Regions from separate parts of the Homo sapiens genome. Here region 1 is linked to region 2. The links are contacts of gene promoters, found by promoter capture Hi-C in blood cells and fetal thymus (Javierre and others, 2016). All regions are on one chromosome and are shown on one strand. Each heading gives the region's core, a stretch centred on a gene start or on the middle of the fragment in contact. The rest is flanking DNA. Distances are from core to core; before and after follow the strand shown.

What was found. The method cuts DNA at HindIII sites, captures the fragments that hold promoters and counts their contacts. A CHiCAGO score of 5 or more calls a contact.
Region 1: a fragment that was not itself captured here is called in contact with the fragment with the promoter of ADAMTS6 in region 2 in 8 of 17 cell types (endothelial precursors, megakaryocytes, erythroblasts and 5 more); the score reaches 23.3 in endothelial precursors.

What each region holds. Positions count from the first base shown.
Region 1 is chr5:65,206,991-65,214,511 of GRCh38, reverse strand. The region is part of intron 20 of ADAMTS6 (ADAM metallopeptidase with thrombospondin type 1 motif 6); the gene reads left to right. It also overlaps the pseudogene LOC100419140. Among named protein-coding and RNA genes, the nearest start is that of ADAMTS6, 270 kb to the left of the region's middle. The HindIII fragment of the contact is 1,570 bases long and covers 3,344-4,913 here.
Region 2 is chr5:65,476,149-65,483,725 of GRCh38, reverse strand. It overlaps ADAMTS6 (ADAM metallopeptidase with thrombospondin type 1 motif 6), which reads left to right and starts at 1,806. Exons shown (of 25, transcript NM_197941.4): 1 at 1,806-2,383. RefSeq lists enhancers at 1,604-1,653, 1,427-1,926, 1,694-2,053. The HindIII fragment of the contact is 619 bases long and covers 1,379-1,997 here.

The sequences.
Region 1 (7,521 bases), core at 2,879-5,378, 270 kb after region 2:
TTCGTGAACACATTCTTGGTAAAGAACATCAAAAGTTTTAAAAAAGAAAATGAGCAAGAATCAGACATCACAGATGCAACTTCTTGTAATGGGAGATGAGAATGTACGGCTGTGTGCTTGTTGTGTGTGTTTGTGTGCCTGTGTGTTTGCCACAATCCTATTCAAACTCCCTTCTCCTGCCATCAAAGTTAAGGGGCTGTATACTGGGATGCTACAATAATTACTGGTATCTGGGTTCTGGGTTAATGGTGTATACTGACCCCATTACAGTCCCTCAGAGGTAGCTGCTAGGCGGTGGTTGGTGATGTGTTGGTTGTCCCATGTGCGTTTTTCATGGGTGCCTTTTCCCTACAATTTACTCTATTCCTAATCCTCCTCCCTCTAGTGGCCACCAATGCAATTCTTTACCTCTGGCTGGGAGAGCAGGACAGTTGGCTTCCTTCAAAGCCAACACCCTTGCTGCTGCATGGACTGGTGAGTAGAAGTGCTGTGCAAGCAGCATCTTCCTTCTCTCTGGAGACTAAATGCATCGCCTCCACCGTACACCTTGATCCTAACAGGCAAGGAAACAAACCTGTCCTTCAGGCCTAGGCTGGACTAGATCACCTCACCATTCCAGAAGCAAAGATTAAATTTTAAATAGTGATATTTATTTTGGGAAAAATTAAAATAAAGTAAATCATCCAATACATTACCTATACTCCTTTTTTAAACTATGCAGAAATATATGATTTTTATATAGACTTCATCCTGTCTTGTATTTGCATCTTCTGATTTTCAAGTCTTAAATCAGAGAGGTTATTTTTAGAGAAATAATTAACATATAATCTATTCAGTATTTTTATTTTATTTTATTACTTATTACTTTTTTTTTTTTGAGACAGGTTTTTGCTCTGTTGCCCAAGCTGGAGTGCAGTGACACGATCATGGCTCACTGCAGCCTCAACCTCCTGGGCTCAAGTGATCCTCCCACCTCAACCTTCTGAGTAGCTAGGGAGCACGCCACCACACCTGGCTAATTTTAAAAATTTTTGTAAAGACAGGATCTCACTGTGTTGCCTAGGCTTGTCTGGAACTCCTGGCCTCAAGCATTCCTCCTGCCTCAGTCTCCCAAAATGCTGGGATTATGGGCATGGGCCATCACGCCCAGCCTAATTCAGTATTTTTAGTCTCATACAGAATTAAAGCAATGATTAACTACAACTCCAATTTCAATATAAAGTCTATACAACATGAAAAAAACAAAAAAGATGAATAATAATATATTAATGTACTCTACTGTGTAAAGTATCATGAAACATGGTTATGTATAATTCGTGACATATTTTAAAAGATCTCTAGTTCCCATCCATTTTATGTGTAAAATGGCTGGTGATTTGTAATGTAAAGTTTTTAAAGCCATAGGACATTACCATTTTTAAATAAAGAAATATTTGCAACTAATTGATCAAGTATATGCCATTGCATTATTTTTAGTGGCATTTATACATATATCTATCTTTTATCCAATTCAATTCTTTTTATTCTATAAATTAACTTTTCCCTTTGCATATTCCAACAAAAAGTCTTCTAGAACAATACATACATAATTCAGGCCCTGAGGCAAGGTGGGATAAACTTATTAAAGAATAATTTAAATAATTTGAAGTTTAGGAAATCTAATAAGGATAGTCTAAAGTTAAAGTGGATTAGCTTGGAGAAAAGAAAGCTAAGGGGATGCATATTAGCATACGACAGAAGGTTGAATGGGAAATTCTTAGAGCCGCTTCATCTTTGTACTGAAATTGCTATATTTGGGGATGGTTTAGATACAGTCTTGTCTGAGACCAAGAAAGGATTAAATGAATTCTTAATGTTCCTTCAATCCTATGATTCTATTTGTTCAGAAAGGAGATAATCCAACAAAAAAGCAAAGAAGAAGAAGAGGAAAAAGGCCATGAGAACTGAATTTGGAAGAAAAAAATATAATTTTGTTGAAGTCAGAAAGTAAAAAGTCTAAATGAGTGTTATTTTTTTCCATAACACTTGCATTGAGAAATAGAAGTGATTTCTTGTGGTAGGGGGTAAAAAAAAAAAAAAAAAAAAAAAGAGAGAGAAAAGCCTCTGGAAGGGAGAGCTTTCTCTTCCTTGTTATTTATTCTTCTTTCTGTGATCTGGAGCTACTGGTCTTAGATACTGGAGGTGGTTCTGGGAACTCACATTAGGGTTGGTTGTGGGTGATTATGAGCATTCTTGAGGCTATTGCCTTCTTCAAATGAGGGATATAGAGGGCATGGTGTAAAGAGCTGCCATTTGTTTCGGTAAGTGGTTCTTAAAGTCTGGTCCCGCCAGCAGCATCAACATCATTTAGAAACTTGTTAGAAATGCTAATTTGAGCACCCCATTACAGACCTACTGAACAGAAACTCTTCGAGTGGGGCGCATTAATCTGCGTTTCAACAAGCCCTGCAGGTGATTTTGTTGCTCGCTCAAGTTTGTGTACCACTGGTCTTGGCTGACAGAGAAACCAAACCCAGCACTCTAGACACGTGGAATCCGTGTCTTCATCACTGAAGTCTGTGCATCTTTGTAAACTCATTTTGCCCCTAGAACAATATCCGAAACATAGTAGGGGCCCAATAAGTGCACCTTATTGAGCACCTTAATGAGGCCAATGGTGGCCTCCCAAAATGCTAGATGAGTGAATGAGTAAAAGGAATTAATTTTGGCAATTATATATTTGTGCTTGTCCTTTCTAATGTGGGAGATGAAAGTTTAGAGTTGCTACTTTTCTTATAGAGTGGGGCAAAGCTTTGCCAAGGAAAAACAGTATCATTTTAATTAGCATAGGTAGGTAAAACCAAGCTCCTCTCTTTTTTACTTTGTTTTTTTTGTTTATTTTTTGTTTTGTTTTGGGTTTTTTTGTGTTTTGAGACAGAGTCTCACCCTGTCACCCAGGCTGGAGCACAGTGGTGTGATCTCGGCTCACTGCAACCTCTGCCTCCCGGGTTTAAGTGACTATTCCACCTCAGCCTCCCAAGTAGCTCAGACTACAGGCGCCCACCAACACGCCTGGCTAATTTTTGTATTTTTAGTAGAGACGGAGTTTCACCATGTTGGCCAGGCTGGTCTTGAACTCCTGACCTCAAGTGACCCACCTGCGTCAGCCTCCCAGAGTGCTAGGATTACAGGCGTGAGCCACTGCACCCAGCCATCTTGCTTACTTTGAATAGGTGGAAAATATTTCCTAGGATATAGAGTGCAGGAATCAATTGTTGAAGTTGCTCTTCTTACACTTTTAACCCCAGGTTCTTAAGAAGCTTACTTTTAACCCTCACTTTTAACCCCAGGTTCTTAAGAAGCTTATGATTGAGGGAAGTAAAGTCCCTTTAGAGTTTAGGAACTTTGACCCAAGAAAAAGCCAGAGTCATCTTCTCCTTAATGAAACTTCATTTTATCGTTAAGAAACCCTTCAAGAAGTCATTTCTACTTACCTTTCACTCAGAAACTAAGGATGAATTCTAAAGTCAGTTCTTTTTTTGTTGGTTTTTTGTTTTTGTTTTTGTTTTTGCTGTCATTAAGTCTATTGTCTTTATAAGGGACATTTTGGGATGGTTCCACCTCATCATTTTAACTTCTTTCTTGGGCTTCTCATAGACTGGATTCTCTCCTGTGGCAGCAAGAGCTTTCTTATACATCTTCCCCATCATGTCTGGAGTTACACTGTTCTTTATGTGTTGAGAGAACTGTTTCTTGTAAGCATCTTCATCTTCCTCCATTAAGTAGCACATGTAATCTGAAACATTCTGGCCCATGATGTGCTTCTGGTGTACTTCCACATTAAATTATTTGCTTTCAGAATCATAACCAGGGAATTGTTTGGTACTGTGAGGGATAGACAAGCCTCCATCCATAGCTTCCTTTGGGGTGCCAAAAACTTTATTGCCAGTGGTAGTTCTGGCAAGGCCTGCATCCAGATAGCAGATAAAGACACCTGGTTGAACATCAATGCTTTCCACATTATATTCATCTCCAATCAACTCCGCTTGGCCTTCATAGATCTTTTTTTTTTTTTTTTTTTTGAGACGGAGTTTCGCTCTGTCGCCCAGGCTGGAGTGCAGTGGCGCGATCTCGACTCACTGCAAGCTCCGCCTCCCGGGTTCACGCCATTCTCCTGCCTCAGCCTCCCGTGTAGCTGGGACTACAGGCGCGCGCCACCATGCCCGGCTAATTTTTGTATTTTTAGTAGAGACGGGGTTTCACCGTGTTAGCCAGGATGGTCTCGATCTCCTGACCTCGTGATCCGCCCGTCTCGGCCTTCCAAAGTGCTGGGATTACAGGCGTGAGCCACCGCGCCCGGCCGGCCTTCATAGATCTTATCCATGCCAAACCTATTGAAAAGCCTGTGGGCCAGCAGCAGGCCAATATAGTACGCTGCAGCATCATTTGTCAGGCCAATCTTCACACCATATTTTGGCAGTTCATGTGCGTATGCTGTGCAAACTATCATATCCCCTTACATATGGGCATAAGCAATCTGACAAATGGTATCTCTGTTTGTTATGTGAGCTATCAACCTGTATTTGGGTGTGTGTTTTTTATTTATTTATTGTCTGCCACTTGACAGAGACCTGCAGGCCCAGCAGTGCTAGGTGGGAAAAAGGGATAAAGTCAGTTCTTAACTGAGATACTCCATGTTCATCTCTCCAAGGAGGTGCTGGGTGTCTTGAGGCTGTCAAAATTCTTTTAAGTGGCAAAGAGAAAACAAGAAAGATCTCAAAGAACTTTCGGTGGCAGTCTCACAAGATCCTTCAGTGTTCTCACTTGTTATTTTCCTGCATATGTTTTATTAATATCCAGACCTTTGGGCTTTAATTGAGTTTGGGAGCAATAATGATAGCTTTCTCTTATGAGATCTTTTAAGATAAGAAGCTTGAGACTTTTTCTGTTGCTTAGCAGATCCAGTGACAAATCTAATGCTACAGGAAACATTGGTGATTCAGTCCAAGTAATGGTCTTTTCTCTGAGTCAGTAATGAAACACTTCCTTTGCCTCATAAGGAACATTGAGATGCTATGGGGTGTTGTCTTCAGTATATGTGTGATTTTTGAGATACTGCTGTAACTCTTCCTCAGAGAGAAATCCAAGCCCAAAAACATGGCTATTTCCAGAACCATTGCTACTAGAATTTGTTTCTGTATTCCTTACCCAAACATATTTATACTTTATAATTTACTGACTCCCGAATTTATATGCTACCATTGGATTAGTGATTATAATCAGTTGCTAATTAATGAATCTTGTCTGGGTAGGGAAAGTTGTATTGTTTTAAAATACAAAGCTGTAGGAGATTTTTAAAAGTGGTAATTTATGCCAGTATACCTATGCACTGTGACTTCTAAAGTTTCAAATAACAAATACTGTATATTCATCCTTTGATTTTATTCATACATATTCTCTTTTTACGATGTTTGGCTAGATATGTGGTTCTCAAATTTAAGCACACATCAGAGTTACCTGAAGGGCTTGTTAAGACACAGATTGCAATGTTCTACCAACAATTTCTGATTCAGTAGTCTAGGGGAGGCTTTAAGAATTTACATTTCTAAGTTTCCAGGTGTTGCTGGTGCCACTGGCTCAGGAACTGTACTTCGGGGCTCTGGGGTAGACACTTAGATTTCCTAAAGTAAATGCCCACTAAACAGAGTGACAAGTCTTTTAGGTAATAATCTATATTATAGTTGTAACCATAGTATCACTAATCTTTTTGGTGACAGGTGGTTCTACTGCTCAGCTATGCAATAATAAAATTGTAAAGTTTAAAACATTTTCTGGTACTATATTTCATTTGATCATCTTCAGTAGCTCCATAAGATAGGCAATGAAATTACTAGTCATAATTTATAGGTAGAATTCAAGTAATTTGCTGAAATCAAGACCTAGCAACTTAGTCTCTAGTGACCTTTTTAATTTAGTAATGAGGTGTTCTTTTGTAATAAAAAGAGCTTTTTCACCAGTTGGCTGCCTCAGTAGGGAAACATGATATATCCCCACCCATAAAGATCTCCTTCACTAGCTTGAAATTTCATTTTTTCAAATGCCTTCCATAGAGCAATGGTTCTTAACTTTGGCTGCACAATAGAATACCCAAGGAGAACTTTAAACAATGATGATACTTTGTCCCCACCCCCAGAGAGTCTTCTTTAATTGGCTGGGGGTGTGGCCTGGACATCAGGCTTTGAAAAGTTCCATAGGTAATTCTAACATACAGCCCCGGTTGAGAAGTACTGCTTTTGAAACTGATTAAAAGTTTTAGTCTTCAAAAAATTAACATTCAGATGCAAGTACCTCTGGGAGCATTACTAACACAGATCTCTGTTTTTAAGTGGCTACTAGTTGAATTCTAAGGTTATGAGACTTAGGAATGAGTATCTGGGATGGGAAAGTAGAGAGGAGCATCAGAGAAGGGAATGAAAGAAGGAATAGCATGCCACTTAATTTCATAATTTTGTTTAATATGGCCATTGGCCTTGGGCATGCCTATATATTTACAGTTTTCCTTCACTTGGTGGATCATTTATAAACATCCAATTAATGTAATAAATGCTTTTAAAACTGACTGAAATTGTGCTAAACAGATTTCCCAAAGCTCTTTATTCTGATTTCAAGTTTATCTGATACAGAGCTAAAATGAGTAGATGGTCGGGTATTCAACCAACTTTAATTTAGATGCACAAGTCAGAACAGAAGAGGCATATGGCCCCTGTTTGAACTCAGTTATTATGAACACTGATACAATTTGTTTTCTTTTAAATTACAGTTCTAATCAGAGAAGACCTTCATTTTTTAGGAAGTTACTTTCTTTAAGAGAATGAATCTTTGCAGAATGCAGCAATATTCATGATAATTTTCTACCCTACTTTTCTGGGTGTGTTCTCATTTCCCTCTGTTCATACCATTCTCATTTCACTCCCATCCCCTCCTCTTATTTAATATTATACAATGCTTAGGCTTTAAAGTGAAACCTTCCAAAGCCCATTAACTGATAATTGATGCTATAGTGTTGTATTTAACTTTGTACCTGTTCTGTTAGAAAATAAACCTTAAGAATAGTTTATTTGCAGTACAAAGAAATGTCAGAAATACATACGATATTTTATATTTATTATAATTTTATATTTATGCTCTAAATATACAGTCTGTCCTGCCATTGGCTCTATTGACACTCCTGATAACTTTCTCCAATTTTTTTTCCTAGATTTTTCTTTCTTCTTCTTTGAATAGAAGTGCAAAATTGTGTACCAAAGTTTCTGCTAATACACAAAAGCATCTCTCTGCCAAACATTGCTTTGCAGTTCTTTGGGGGAAGAGATAAAGCTATGCTTAGATTACTGAGGAGTTAGGAAGGAGACAGTTTACTGTTAGAGATATTTTTTGTTTTGTTTGAAGATCAAAGAGCACAGATTTTATTTTACATATACTAAATGATTATACAGGAATGTTTCTGATCAATCATCATTGACTATTTAAAATGCTATCATT
Region 2 (7,577 bases), core at 557-3,056:
TTCAACACTATTTAAATAGTCATTTGATGCCTACTTTTCTTATTTTTGGTGTTTACAATTATTGCTATATTTTGCTACCTCATGTATTTCACATATATGTACACACATATATATACACATACAAATACGCACACATACATACATACATATGAATCATCTTTATTTAAAACTCAATGCCCACTATTGAACAGATTTCTACATTTTAAATGGCTTTTAGCCAGATACTACTGATTAAGGTCAGGATGAGGACTATTTACTCTGTGGACAGATGCTTTCCACTTTCAACCCTTGAAGAAGAATTGAAATAACTGTATTCTTGGACGTTCTCAGTCTGATTCATGCCTCCTTTTAGCCAACTATTCATAGATTCACCAGAAGAATTACACCTACTACCTCCGGCGTAGGAAGAAAAAAAAAAATCAAATGGGCAATAATGTTAGCAGAAGCTTGATATTTAAGAGCTGGTATTCAGAAAGATCATCCTTCCTACCCCCTTCCCTCCGGTCCAGTTCTCCTTTCTGGTTCTCACCATCGGAAATTGACTTGGCATTAACTAAGGGCTGGAATTTCAAGGCGTCAATTTTCCCCTGCCCCCAACCTCGGAAACTCTTAAACAGCTCCCTATTCTACACTCAATGGTAGAGACAGATAAATGATGCAGCAGATTACACCGTTGAAAGGCAACATTTGTCCTGAGCTATTTTCACATTTTTTCCTGTTTCCGATGTATGTGCCAGACTTTGTTTGCTTGCTTAGGACATGGAAAACACTGGGCATTTTCTCCCCAGCGGCTTTCATTCTCAGCAAATGAAAGTGAAAGTGCTACATTGTAGCGGTATTTTATCCTTAAAGTCTGGACTGGCAGCTTGTGTGTAGGGGGGAGGGAGGGTGGGATTGGGAAGGTTGAAGAACCAGTTTTGAGGTTTTGTTTGTTTATCTTGAGATCGCAGCAGGGTTCCTGTTTTTTTCCCTTCCTTTTTTTTTTTGGTGGTGGGGTCCTACTTCGGATTTATTTTCATTTGGGCAGTCATTGAAGTTTCATTCAATGGACTGACTTAAAAAAATACACTCCACTTGTGGCTTTTCCCGGTTGCACTTTAAAACACCATCCAGTCTCACCCTCATCTGGAAATAATGCAAGCTTCTCTCTTCCTTCCCCCGCTCCCTCCTCCCCTACTTTTTTTTTTTCTTCTTCTTCTTCTTTTAAAGCTCCACATAACCTGAAGTCGATAATCAAATGGAAAATGTGCTGGTATTAGTTTACTTTAGTTTACTTTCCCTTTTGGTGCTAACCTTACTTGCTGAAGTATGTATAAAACACAGGCATTTTGTACACTTGTAGCTACTGAGTCTTGTGCCTGCTGCACGAATCTAAGCTTTAAGTTTCCTCAGAGGCACTGTTTGCGTGCAAGTTTTAACATTTTGATTGTGTGGATTTTAAAAATAAAATTACACGGAGAATGACACCAGAGATCTTAACAGTGACATTAGTCCATCTAAAGTCATTCATCCTTCTCCCTCCCCCTTCATTTTTCCAAGAAACAACTAATAGCAAACCAGGCTAGAATTTCTAAGAGAGTTTAGAGGAGGAGGAGGAAAAGAGGCGGAATGAGATAGGACAGAGAGGTTAGAGAGGCCAGAATTTCTCTCATTCACAGTGTGGAAAAGTTGACATTGTCTAAGCCCTTCTGAATGGCTGGTAGTTGGTTACCCCGATTGTACCTCTACCTCCCCTCCCCCTCCACGTGACGACCCAGGACACATGCGCACCCGACGCAGCCCAGGCACATCTGCAGACTGACGTCAGTGTGCTCTGCCTCCGAGGAAAAGCTGCCAAAATTTTCTCCTGCTGCAATTCAAGTTGGCTGGGGGCCGGTAGTGAGATCTAGGGCTACTTCAACAAAACTTTGCTGCCCTTCCTGCTCCTCTTGTCTTCTTTTCTCCTGATACCTTTTGATGCTCTGCACATGTTATTTGCATAGCAAAGGCACTAAGCTTTCCAGGAAGAGAGGGCACCACTTCCACCCCCAATAAGTCTTTTTTCCCGTCTTTTCTTTCTTTTCCTTTCCTTTTTTGGGGGGTGGGGAGGGAGAGAAAGGGGGTTTGCAAAGGCAGCATCTCAGAGTGATAGCCTAGATGTATTGAAGGCATCTCTTATTCTGCCAAATCGGAAAGTCAGTTCTCTAAAGCCCGGGTTAGCCAGACCATAGGGTTTTATTCTGGCTGCAGAATAACTGGCTGGTGTGGCTTTGCAAAGGGGGGCAAAAAATAAAAAAATAAAAAAAATTAAAAAAAGTTAGAGAGGAGAGGGAGTACGTGAGTCGTCCAGTGCAATCTCTATTGTCTGAAACTTACTTTTTATCAGAATTTGAAGATGAAAACGGTAAGGAAGACTTAACAATATTCAATGGAGCTTTTTTTTTTTAAACCAACAACTTGTGCTTTGCTTGTCTTCCGAATAACGCTTAGAAAACTTTTTTTCTGTGTGTGTGTTTTTTTTTTTTTTTTTAATGGCAATGAGTGAGCTTGACTGAACTCATTTTACAAATAGATATCTTTTTAACTCCAGACTTGTCGGGGGTTGTAGAATTCTGGGACTTGCAGTTATTTTATGATGCAAAAAAAATACGTTTATTTTATGAATATACAATACATGTTTTGTGAAGTGGACTTGATTATGATTATTGTAATCTTTTAACTGATCACCAAATAGTAATCCGGAAGGTAATAATGATGTGTGTGTTTTAAATTGATTTCCAGTTTTCTTACAGAAAAGTCTTATGCATTTTGTAGTTTCATGTCAGTGTCGTTAAGTCTTCAGACAAGTGCATATTTTATGCCTGGGCTCAGAGGGTAGCATTAATGTGCTAGCTGTAGCCCCGATGCTCTAGGACATGTTAAGCTCTTAATAGGCTAATCAAAGAGATGGAAACGTGTGTTTTTGATTTACTTTTGGCCACTTGGGACGTGCTAGACTCATAACCCTCCGGAGCCTTGTTTATCGGGGTAGGTCTGTATATATGGTGTATGGGACCAAAGTTCAGGGATTGAGGAGGGAGAGTGAGAGTGCAGGAATGGGGTATTGGGAAGCCTCTTTCTGATAATATGTGCTACAATTCCTGTCTTTGATGCTTTCTTTCCCTGTACTAGAGGAAAAGTGAGCGAGAGATTGAGAAAGCGCACTGAGAGGGAACAAGAGAGTGAGTTTCTTACTCTTGTTTTTATTTGAGCTGCCGGTGCAACGCGTTTGGGCCAGATGCCAACTGTCTGGGTCACACGCGTTTTATCCAAATAGATTTAGCGCTGCTGTCTGGAAATGGGCTGCTGAATGTTAACTTTAGGATCAACTCAACCAGGGCAGCTCAGACTGTTACCCTCTGTCTGGGCGAAGTGGAATGGTGGGGGCGGGGGGAGGTGAGGGTGTGCAGAGCAGAGAGAAAAAGGGAAACTGAACCATTGCTTGGAACTTTAAAAGAGACACTTGAGTGTGATTTTCAACATGTTCTTTTTATGTTCAAGTGTCGTGGACTAATTTTCTGTTCTTTTTTCTTTCTTTTTAGTTTCTGTTGATTAGACTGAAATGTTTAGATGTGGGGATGACAGTTTTCAGAATTCATGACAGGAAAAGAAACGTAACACAAAATTGGTGTAGTTGAAAGAAATTAAGAAAATTAATTTTGGAGATAATTGTTTTCTTGTGTTGCAGCAAAGTGGTAACTGCAGTCTGGTTTATGTTAATTCTGTGCTTAAATGTGATCGTTAGTGTTTTGAATTTTTGAAGAATAGCATTTAGAGGCAAATACGTTGATTTCAAACAAATCAAATTCATTCATTTGCCACAGCTGCAAATGAAGTCTGTGTAGTGGTCTTAATATTTTTGTGATTCCCAAGAAGAAAAACTTCTAGCCTGAAGACTGAAAATACTGTAATACTCCTTATGTCTGGTCCCAATACCTGTAAGATTAATTCCTACTCTTGTCTACTCTTAGCACTTCCTCTTTCTTTCCTTAGTAATCACTAGTAGTAGTAACTAGGATGGGTCTTTATGCCAAATTTTATCAAGTTTGTGACTTTAGTGAGTGAATGAAGGGAGTTACCATATTAAGAGATAGTTAACAGCATATTTGGAATATGTGTTGGGGGTAGTGGGGAGAAAAAGAGGGGAAGAGGTGGATAGCTCTCTTGCTTCTGCCAAAAAACATGGTTGATTATCAAGCTAAGCTCAAGAGAAAAAATTTATAATACAGAAAATGTGTATTTACTTGCTATCTGGAAAAAAGTGTGAGACTACATGTAATTTAGGGCTTGAGTTTTATAAATCATGGTTTGTATTTTTGCTTTTAGCTCATTTGCTTGATAGATATGTTTTGGGTAATTTATGTGTTTAGTTTCACCTTTCCTTGGAAACCAATCTCACAAATTTTATAAATGATCTAGAAACCTTTATACTTAGAGCCTAATTGTGTCCTTAGCATACAGTAGGTGATAATAAATGTGAGAGAATAAATGGAAATGAAAGAAGTTAATTTTCATATGTAAAAATTAAACACCTGAAAGGAGCATGGTATTGTTGTTTCTTCCATGGAGACCAAATCAGCCTTAAATAAATAACCAGAGTTAAGATGGATGAAAGAAGTTGAGAAGAACATTATACACATTCTTTAGCTTCATAATAATAGTTCACAAGAGGAAATTATTACCTTGGCTACTCCCCGATCACTTGAGTGGGAAGTAAAGATGATAGAGGAAAAAAGACAAGTAATACCCTCCAATCAGGGCAGACTACTGAGGAAATCACTATAGTGCAAGTTGTCTCATCATTTTTCTTCTTAGGTAGTGTAGCTTTGATCCATGGAAGCAGGTAAATGATCCCTTAACTTTACTGCCTGGTGCATTTGTGTTAGGGAGAAAAGCATATGTGAAATCAAAGTGAAATGGACGTTTTGGTTCTGTTTTCAAATTTAAAGTAGTTATAAGTATCATTATCATGACCAAAGTTCTTAACTCCTTGCTGTAAAAGACAATATAACTAGTTGATTGACTCCATCATCATATCTATTATTTCACATTTTTGAGGGAAAGAGGAACATGAAACTATTTTTGAAGGAAGGGCTTTGAAAAGTGATGTTAGATAATGAAGGAAGGAGGGCTAATATTATTTAGCTTAAAGTACAGAGACACTTTACGTCATATGTAATCTAATCTCTTAACAAGTCTTTGTGAGATAGACATCAATATCATGGTTTTATAGATTAGAAAGCAGATGCAGAGAGGTTAAGTAACTGGGGGTCAGGCCAGGACTCAAAGCCTTTGTGCTTTCCACAACATAATGATGTTTCTGCTATACAATTTAAAAGGTCAATGCATTGTGATTTTTGGACAACTGTTTGGTATTTCAATGTTAGTCTGAACTTTGGAAACTATATCTGAAAAGTCACAGCCTCTACATATTTATGGTGTCCAGATTAACCTCCCCACCAGGTGTCAGAAAGTGGGTTAACTCATTCACTTTTATTGTGTAGGTGACTAAGAGCAGTTAGATTTGTTAGTTGTGTTGATTTTAGTTAAATTCCTTTTTTGTTTGTTTGGTTTTTTTTTTGAGACGGAGCCTCGCTCTGTCACCCAGGCTGCAGTGCAGTGGCGTGATCTTGGCTCACTGCAGCCTCCACCTCCCATGATCAGGTGATTCTCTTGCCTCAGCCCCCTGAGTAGCTGGGATTACAGGTGCGCACCACCACGCCTGGCTAATTTTGTATTTTTAGTAGAGACAAGATTTTGAAATGTTGGCCAGGCTGGTCTCAAACTCCTGACCTCAGGTGATCTGCCCATCTCAGCCTCTCAAAGTGCTGGGATTACAGGTATGAGCCACCATGCCTGGCCAGTTTTAGTTGAATTCTATCTAGACTCATTTACTTAATGTTAAGTTTCTTCACTGAGCACTGGAGGCCAAAAAAAAAAAAAATGTGGGGAGGGAGCAAGGGAGTGATAAAGGAGAAAGAAACTCATGTGCCAGCTATTATAACTAGTGTTGGAACTAAGACTATAACTGGTTTGTTTAACTTCAAAGCTCCTGCTTTTTCAACTATGCACCAATGCCTTTTTTACTGCAAATCCTTAAATCATATAGTAGTCTACTTCTGGCCAAATAGGTATTACTTTTTTTTCTCAATGCTACTGGCTTAGTTAACTTGAGCATTTACAGGAGAGTAGGTAAGAGTGAAGGTTATGAAACTGTAACAATTTACAAAAAGAGCAGGACATTTCTCAAGAGGGAAAAATAGTTGCTCCCTAAATCCAGTCAACTATATTGTAAGTTTCTCAGTAGTTTCAAAACCTAGAAAAATAGGAGAAAAAGGGATGAATGATTCAATCAAATCTATCTCCATTGCTAGAAAATTAACTCAAATGTGTTAAGTATATGTTTTTTAAAGGAAGATTATAATCTAAAGTATATGAGGGACTAATTTAATGTCAGATGTTATTACTCAAAACACTCCAGTGATCTAAAAAAATTAAAACAATGAAAATGAATGTTGTTCAAAAGGTGACAATTATACTTTAATATTACATGGGAAGGTTTAGAGTATGGAATCTGTATATAAGTAGGTTGGAAACCAAGATAATGGAATTCTTCTTATTGCCGTTATTGAATAATGGTATAACTTAATCTCTCTATAAATTTTTACCTGAGAAAGGATGCCTGCTATCTTGCCTAAATTAGTGTAGAAGTAATTTCAAGAAGAAACAATGACTGTATGTGAAGTTGTTAAAAACTATTCACATTAACTAACCAATACCACTTATAAATATATCGACTGGGCGCAGTGGCTCACGCCTGGAATCCCAGCACTTTGGGAGGCTGAGGCTGGCGGATCAGGATGTCAGGAGATCGAGACCATCCTGGCTAACACGGTGAAACCCCATCTCTACTAAAAAAAAATACAGAAAAATCAGCTGGGCATGGTGGCACGCATCTGTAATCCCAGCTACTCAGGAGGCTGAGGCAGGAGAATCACTTGAACCCGGGAGGTGGAGGTTGCAGTGAGCTGAGATCGTGCCACTGCACTCCAGCATGGGCGACAAGAGCAAGACTCAGTCTCAAAAAAAAAAAAATCTTCTTTGACATTGGTTGTTATTAACTACTGTTGACTGTTTAAATTTGAGTGCCTTAAACTGGAAGTGTGATATAATACAAAGAATTTAGACTTTAGAACCAGACAGCCTTGTGTGAATCTGGGCTCTATTGTTTTATACCTATCTGACCAGTGAGTTCAGCTTCTTTATTTGTGAATTGGTGGCTGTATTAGTTATCAATTGCTGTGTAACAAATTACCACAAACTTAGTGAGTTAAAACAATACACATTTATTATCACACAGTTTCTCTGGGTCAGGAATCTAGGGGTTATGTCCTCAGCTTTAGGGTATCTCATGAGCCACAAAGTGTTGGCAAGGACTAGGGTCTTTACAGAAGGCTTGACTGGGGAAAAACCTGTTTCTAAGCTCACCTATTACTGAACAGGATTTAGTTTCTTGCATGCTGTTGGACTGAGGGCCTTAGTTCCTTGTTAGTTATATC